Regions from separate parts of the Homo sapiens genome. Here region 2 is linked to region 1. The links are contacts of gene promoters, found by promoter capture Hi-C in human tissues and cell types (Jung and others, 2019). All regions are on one chromosome and are shown on one strand. Each heading gives the region's core, a stretch centred on a gene start or on the middle of the fragment in contact. The rest is flanking DNA. Distances are from core to core; before and after follow the strand shown.

What was found. The method cuts DNA at HindIII sites, captures the fragments that hold promoters and counts their contacts. A contact is called where the count stands out against the background at its distance.
Region 2: a fragment that was not itself captured here is called in contact with the fragment with the promoter of SIN3B in region 1 in 1 of the 25 tissues and cell types used here (dorsolateral prefrontal cortex).

The regions. Positions count from the first base shown.
Region 1 is chr19:16,827,752-16,831,314 of GRCh38, reverse strand. SIN3B (SIN3 transcription regulator family member B) reads right to left here and starts at 1,917. Exons shown (of 19, transcript NM_001297595.2): 1 at 1,775-1,917; 2 at 1,418-1,524. The coding sequence starts at 1,894. RefSeq lists a silencer at 1,770-1,949 and an enhancer at 1,690-2,191. The HindIII fragment of the contact is 27,079 bases long and covers 1-3,563 here.
Region 2 is chr19:16,670,828-16,674,390 of GRCh38, reverse strand. The region is part of intron 1 of TMEM38A (transmembrane protein 38A); the gene reads right to left. Among named protein-coding and RNA genes, the nearest start is that of TMEM38A, 11 kb to the right of the region's middle. The HindIII fragment of the contact is 5,585 bases long and covers 1-3,563 here.

The DNA of each region.
Region 1 (3,563 bases), core at 668-3,167:
GAGGCAGGCAGATCACCTGAGGTCAAGAGTTCGAGACCAGACTGGTCAACATGGTGAAACCCTGTCTGTACTAAAAATACAAAAACGAACTTGGAGTGGTGGTGCGTGCCTGCAGTCCCAGCTACTCAGGAGGCAGAGGCACAAGAATCACTTGCACCCGGGAGGCGGAGGCTGCAGTGAGCCCAGATCACACCACTGCACTCCAGCCTGGGCGACAGCACGAGAATCCATCTCAAAAAAAAAAAAAAAAGTGCCCCCATGTGATAGCATCTGTACACCATGACCTATCTCCTGACTGGCTAGGCCTGAGCTCCCTGTTCCCTCCTGGTGAGAACCAGAGAATACTGACATCGCTCAGCTCCCCTAAAACACTCCAAGAATGGGTACTCGGTTCTGAAAATGTCAGGAGAGCCAACCGCAAGGCCTGGACTCCAAGAAATGGCAGGAGGCCAAAGTCCTCTAAGCAATGTGAAAACTTCCCTCATTTTGTATCAGATAGAGATGACTATGACACAGGTTTCCATCTGAGCAAACAATTGCAATGCATAAATACCAATGGTACTGCCAAGAATGGGAAAGGTGTAAGAAAAATAGGAGGGGAGAGATGGGGTCTCCCTTCTGGCTGCATTGCAGCCCAGCCCTTAGCACTGGGCTCCCGGAAGGAAACCAGGCCAGCCCCACCATGTTTCCTAAGAGGGGGCAGCAGTATGGTAAGCATGTGACTTCCAAGAATCTGAGTCAGAGGGTCTGAGTTCTAGTGACACCTCTGCCACTTAGGTGGGTCCCTTACCCACTCCAAACCTCAGTGAGTCTCCTATAAAAACAAGGGCATGATCCCAGGGTTTCCCATCTATCTGTAATCTTCCTTGATTCTGGGCCTGCAAAATCATCTCATGTGTTTTAAACGTTTTCTGTGTGCCAGCTCCCTTACTAAGCATTTTATGCGTCTTACTTCCAAGCAGGCCTGGGACCACAGTGAGCCCAGAGAAGCATCTTGAGGACAAGATTAAAGGGGAAGAGGGTGCCAAAAATTTCAATCATCAAGACAATAACATTTTACAGCGCTTGAAAATAAAAATCAAAATGGGTCCCACCAAATCTTTCATGAACAAAACTAATATAAAAATCAACATATTAAATCAAGGCAGGATTTGACTCTATGAGTGTGCACGGCCTCGCCCTCCCTGCCTCCCCCCAGATCCCTGTCCTGCTTCCAGGAATCCCCACAAAGCTCCACAAGGTGGGTACTACCCATTTCCATTTTTGTTACGAGAAGGAGCTAGGGCTCTGAGAGATTGGACAACCTGCGCAAGGTCACCCGGCTAAGGGGGCAGGCTGGAGAGGGGAGGTCTCACCCCGCTAGGCCCGATTCCGGCCCAGGGGGGTCCCCTGAGGTGGAGAGGGGCCCCGCTGGTACCTCTGGCTTTTGAACTCCTTCATGATCTCCAGGAAGCCGTTGTAGGTGGCAGGGTCGCTGCCAAAGCGGATCTTCACCTGGTCCAGATAGGTGAGGGCGTCTTCTACCTGCAGAGAGGGGGAGGGTCCCGGTGGGCCCTGGCCGCGGAACGAGGGGACGAGGGGCCGGGGTCCCTGAGGGGAAGGGGATGGGCTGGGCTTTCGGAGGGCCGAGGTGAGAGGTGAGGGGTGAGGGGTCCGGGGCAGTGCAGAGGGGAGGCCGAGGTGGGGCTGGGGCCGGGCGGGGCCTGGGTGAGGGGCGCCCGCCCGCGGGGTCCAGAAGATGGGTTCCCCGAGGGAGGGCGGGGACGCCACTCACGTGCACCGGCAGCTTCTCGTGGCCTGCGGAGCCCGAGCGACCCCAGCGGGCGCCGCTCAGCCCCCGGCCCGCGGGGCCGCCGGCACCGCTGCCACCGCTGCCACCGCCAGCGTGCGCCATGTCCGAAGTCGGAGCTGCGCCCCGCCCCGCCCCCGCCCGAGGTCCTGCCGCGCATGCGCAGCCTCCGCCTTTGGAGGCGGGGTTTGATGACGTTGAGGGGCGGTGCTCTTTGAGGGACTCTTCTGAAGACCTTCTCCTTAAGATTGGTATCATAATTAATGATTTATATAGCAGGGGTAGGCGAGCCAAGACCCGCCGCCTACTTTGTCCGGCCCCGCAAGCTCAGAATTATTTTTACATGTTTACATAGCCGGGGGAAAAATCCAAAGAAGAATAGTCTATGACCTGTGAAAAGTTTGTGAAATTCACATTTGAGGGTCCCTGAATAAAGTTTTATTAGCACACAGACACGCCCACGCGTTTACCTGGCTTCTCTGCCTGCTTTCGCCTTACAACAGAGTAGGTAGTTGCTAAAGATCCTACAGATCTGCAGACCCTGAAGTATTTACGATCTGGCCTTTTATGGAAAAAGTTTGTTGGCCCCTGCTTTATAGAGTTGACGGGACGATGAGGTATGAGCCCCCAGCGCCCTAATATAGGGCCTTGCGTGGTGAATTTTTGCTAAATGGCCTTTAAGTTAGTCCTACTCCTCCCATCTTCACTTCCCTATCCTTGGCCCCGTCACTTCCCATCTGGACCAGTTTAGGAGCCTCCTAACTCTGGTACTTTCTTTTTTTTTTTTTTTTTTTTTTTTTTTTTTTGAGACAGAGTCTCGCTCTGTCGCCCAGGCTGGAGTGCAGTGGCGCGATTTCCGCTCACTGCAAGCTCCGCCTCCCGAGTTCACACCATTCTCCTGCCTCAGCCTCCTGAGTAGCTGGGACTACAGGCGCCCGCCACTGCGCCCTGCTAATTTTTTGTACTTTTAGTGCCACCCCACCTGGCTCTAACTCTGGTACTTTCTCAGCCCTGATACTATCAAGAACTCTAGGCTGGGGATGGTGGCTCACGCCTGTAATCCCAGCACTTTGGGAGGCCGAGGCGGACGGATCACGAGGTCAGGAGATAGAGACCATCCTGGCTAACACGGTGCAACCCCGTCTCTACTAAAAATACAAAAAATTAGCCGGGCCTTGAAAAAAAGAAAAAGAAAATGAAAAAATTGGCTGGGCGCCGTGGCTCACGCCTGTAATCCCAGCACTTTGGGACGCCGAGGCGGGCAGATCACCTGAGGTCTGGAGTTGGAGATTAGCCTGACCAACATGGAGAAACCCCGTCTCTACTAAAAATACAAAATTAGCCGGGCTTTGTGGCGCATGCCTGTAATCCCAGCTACTCGGGAGGCTGAGGCAAGAGAATTGCTTGAACCCGGGAGGCGGAGGTTGCAGTGAGCCAAGATCACGCCATTGCACTCCAGCCTGGGCAACAAGAGCAAAAACTCTGTCTCAAAAAATTAATTAATTAATTAATTAAATAATAAAATAAAATGAAAAAATTAGCTGGGCGTGGTGGTGCACACGTTTAGTCCCAGCTACTCGGGAGGCTGAGGCAGGATTGCTCATGCCCAAGAGTTCAAGGCTGCAGTGAGCCATGATCTTGCCACTGCACACCCCAGCCTGGGAAGCATAGCAGTGCTTTTTTTTTTTTTTTTTTTTAAAGAGCATCTCATCTCTTAAAAAAAAAAAAACAGAAAAACAAAAAACTCCACTTTTTCCACCACTCCTTCCAAACC
Region 2 (3,563 bases), core at 603-3,102, 160 kb after region 1:
TGGAGACAAGAGTTTTGCTCTGTCGCCCAGGCTGGAGTGCAGTGGTGTGATCTCGGCTCACTGCAATCTCCGCCTCCTCCTAGGTTCAAGTGATTCTCCTGCCTCAGCCTCCCAAGTAGCTGGGATTACAGGCACCTGCCACCACGCCTAGCTAAGTTTTGTAGTTTTAGTAGACAGGGGGTTTCTCCAAGTTGGCCAAACTGGTCTCGAACTCCTGACCTCAGGTGATCCACCCACCTTGGCCTCCCAAAGTGCTGGGATTACAGGCATGAACCACAGCGCCTGGCCCTGGACACTTTTTTTAAGAGACAGCATCTCGCTCTGTCACCCAGGCTGGAGTGCAGTGATGCAATCATAGCTCACTGCAGCCTCAAACTCCTGGGCTTGAGCCTTCCAAGTAGCTAGGAGTACAGACGTGTGCCACCATGCCTGGCCAATTTTTATACTTTTTTTTTTTTCTTTTTTTGTAAAGATAGGATCTCACTGTGTGGCCCAGGCTGCTCTTGAACTCCTGGCTTCAAATGATCCTCCTGCCTTGGCCTCCCAAAGTGCTGGGATTTCAGGTGTGAGCCACCAGCAGGCCTGCGCATTTCTGGTGACATTGTAACAACAATGACCTTCTCTGTTCCATTTATTAATTGAGAAAGGTGTAGTGCACTCTACTCTGTAAAAGGAATTACGTTCTTCTTAGCTTGGTCAACCTCACAGGGGGAAATAATCATCAATGCCAGAGTTTCTCCTACAAATCCAGGTGAGCGCATCAGTGGGCATTACCATGTTAGAGGCAACTTGGCAATACCAGGGAAATATGAAGCTGTGCATCCCCTGGACCCCAGCAATTCCACTCCTTGCTATTAACCCCAAAGAAACAAGCACCATAAACAAAGACTTAGAGAAGGAAGATGTTTCACTGATACAATGTTGCAACAGGAGAAAAGTGAAATCAACAGTCTCTTAGTAAAGCTGTGGGAAGCCACAAAATGTGGAGTGCCATAGAGTAGCTATTTAAAAGTGAACCAGGCTGGGTGCAGTGGCTCACCCAGCACTTTGGGAGGCCAAGGCAGGCGGATCACTTGAGGTCAGGAGTTTGAGACCAGCCTGGCCGACATGGTGAAACGCTGTCTTTACTAAAAATACAAAAATTAGCCAGGCATGGTGGCAGGTGCCTGTAATCCCAGCTACTCAGGGGGCTGAGGTAGGAGAATCGCTTGAACCCGGGAGGTGGAGGTTGCAGTGAGCCAAGATTGCGCCACTGCACTCCAGCCTGGGCGACAGAGGGAGGCTCCATCTCAGAAACAAACAAACAAACAAACAAACAAAAAGAAAAAGAAAAGTGAACTAGACCTTGATCAGGGTTTTTCAACCTCAGCTCTGTTGACATTTGGGATCAGATCATTTTTTGCTATGGGGGCATTCTGTGCATTATAGCATGTTAAGCAGCATCCCTGGCTTCCACCCACTAGATGACAGTGGCACCACACAGCTGTGACAACCAAGAATGTCTCCAGATATTGCCAAATTTATCCTTTGGGAACAGAATCCCTTCTGGTTGAGAATCTCTGTTTTAGATGTATCAACAAAGACAAGTCCCATAAGCTTACTGCTGAGTGAAAAGGTTGGGCTGCAAAATGATACACTTATGGCCGGGCTCAGTGGCTCACACCTGTAATCTCAACACTTTGGGAGGCCAAGGCAGGTGGATCACTTGAGGTCAGGAGTTCGAGACCAGCCTAGCCAACATGGTGAAACCCCCATCTCTACTAAAAATACAAAAAGTAGCCGGGCGTGGTGGCATGCGCCTGTAATCTCAGCTACTTGGGAAGCTGAGACATGAGAATCACTTGAATTCAGGAGGTGGAGGTTGCAGTGAGCCAAGGTCACACCACTGCACTCCAGCCTGGGCCACAGAGCAAGACTCTGCCTCAAAAAAAAAAAAAAAAAAAATGAGGTTTTTTTGTGATTTTTTTTTAAGCTCATCAGCTATCGTTAGTGTGAGTGTATTTTATGTGAGGCCCAAGATAATTCTTCATCAAACATGGCCCAGGGAAGCCAAAAGATTGGACATCCCTGTTTTAGAGTAAGTAATCAATACACTTGCCCCTCTCCTCGCTATCCCCACCAACTAACAATGTGATCTTGAACAAGCCACTTTTTTCTCTCCACATCTCTTTTTTTAAAAAACAAAGTAGAACGTTGCTTCTTTGTCTAACTCCTGATGAGGACTGGAATGAGCTTTTCCCTCCTCTAACCTCACCCTGGAGTTATGAGCCCAAAATGCAGCTTCTCCCTGCTCTCAAGGTTGTCCTACGTCTTACCATTGACCAAGGTCCTAGGGTATGAGGTAAAATGCTTCAGCTCCTCTCCTAGGGTCTATTTAAAACACAACTGGCTGAGAGTTAATCCCTCAGAGCAGCTGGTGGCCTGTGCAGAGGCCAGGTCGGGTGAGGCACCCATGTTTTGCAGAAATGGATACCTCTGCATCTAAAAATAACTCCCAGGGACTGAATTCTTTCCAGGATCTTTCTTGTGCCCTCTGGGATCATCCCAGGGACCGAGGTTGGGGAGTGGGGGTAGGGACCTAGCGTTTGCATGAGTTACGCTCTGACGGGCAGATGCCCATGTTTGCAGTATGTGTGTGCCCTGCTATAAAAGTCACATGCCGGCTGGGCGCGGTGGCTCACACCCGTAATCCCAGCACTTTCGGAGGCCAAGGCAGGCAGATCACTTGAGCTCAGGAGTTCAAGACCAGCCTGGGCAACATGGCAAAACCTCATCACATGCCTAGCTTCTGGCTCTGCTACTCACTCTAGCATGGCCTTGGGCAAGTGACTGCCTGCCCCCCCAAGCCTTAGTTTGCTTCACTGTCAAAAGACCAAGATGACGGCCAGGCGCAGTGGCTCACACCTGTAATCCCAGCATTCTGGGAGGCCGAGGCAGGTGGATCACTTGAGGTCAGGAGTTTGAGTTTGAGACCAGCCTGGCCAACATGGTGAAACCCCGTCTCCACTAAAAATACAAAAATTAGCTGGGTATGGTGGCGGATGGCTATAATCCCAGCTACTCAGGAGGCTGAGGCAGAATTGCTTGAACCCAGGAGGCGGAAATTGCAGTGAGCCAAGATCGTGCCACTGCACTCCAGCCTGAGTGACAGAGTGAGACTCCGCCTCAAAAAAAAAAAAAAAAAAAAAAGCCCAGGTCCTTTCCCCTTTCCATACTCCTTGGTTTCTCTTGATGGGTTTGGGACAGCCCCATGAAGCCAATAGGTTTTCAACTGCCGCATGCCATGAACACATTCCCCTCTGACTGGGTGAGCTTAGGCTAGTCCCTCCCTTCCCTGGGCCTCAGTTTGCCCATATGTAGGAGGGGGAGGCGGTCTAGGGTGACCAACTATCCCCCTTTGCCTGGGTCCCAGGGGTTTCCTGGGACATGGGACTTTCTTTTATTCTTTTTTTGAGATGGGGTCTTGCTCTGTCGCCCAGGCTGGAGTGTAGTGGTGCGATCTTGGCTTGATGCAACCTCCACCTCCCGGGTTCAAGTGATTCTCCTGCCTCAGCCTCCCGAGT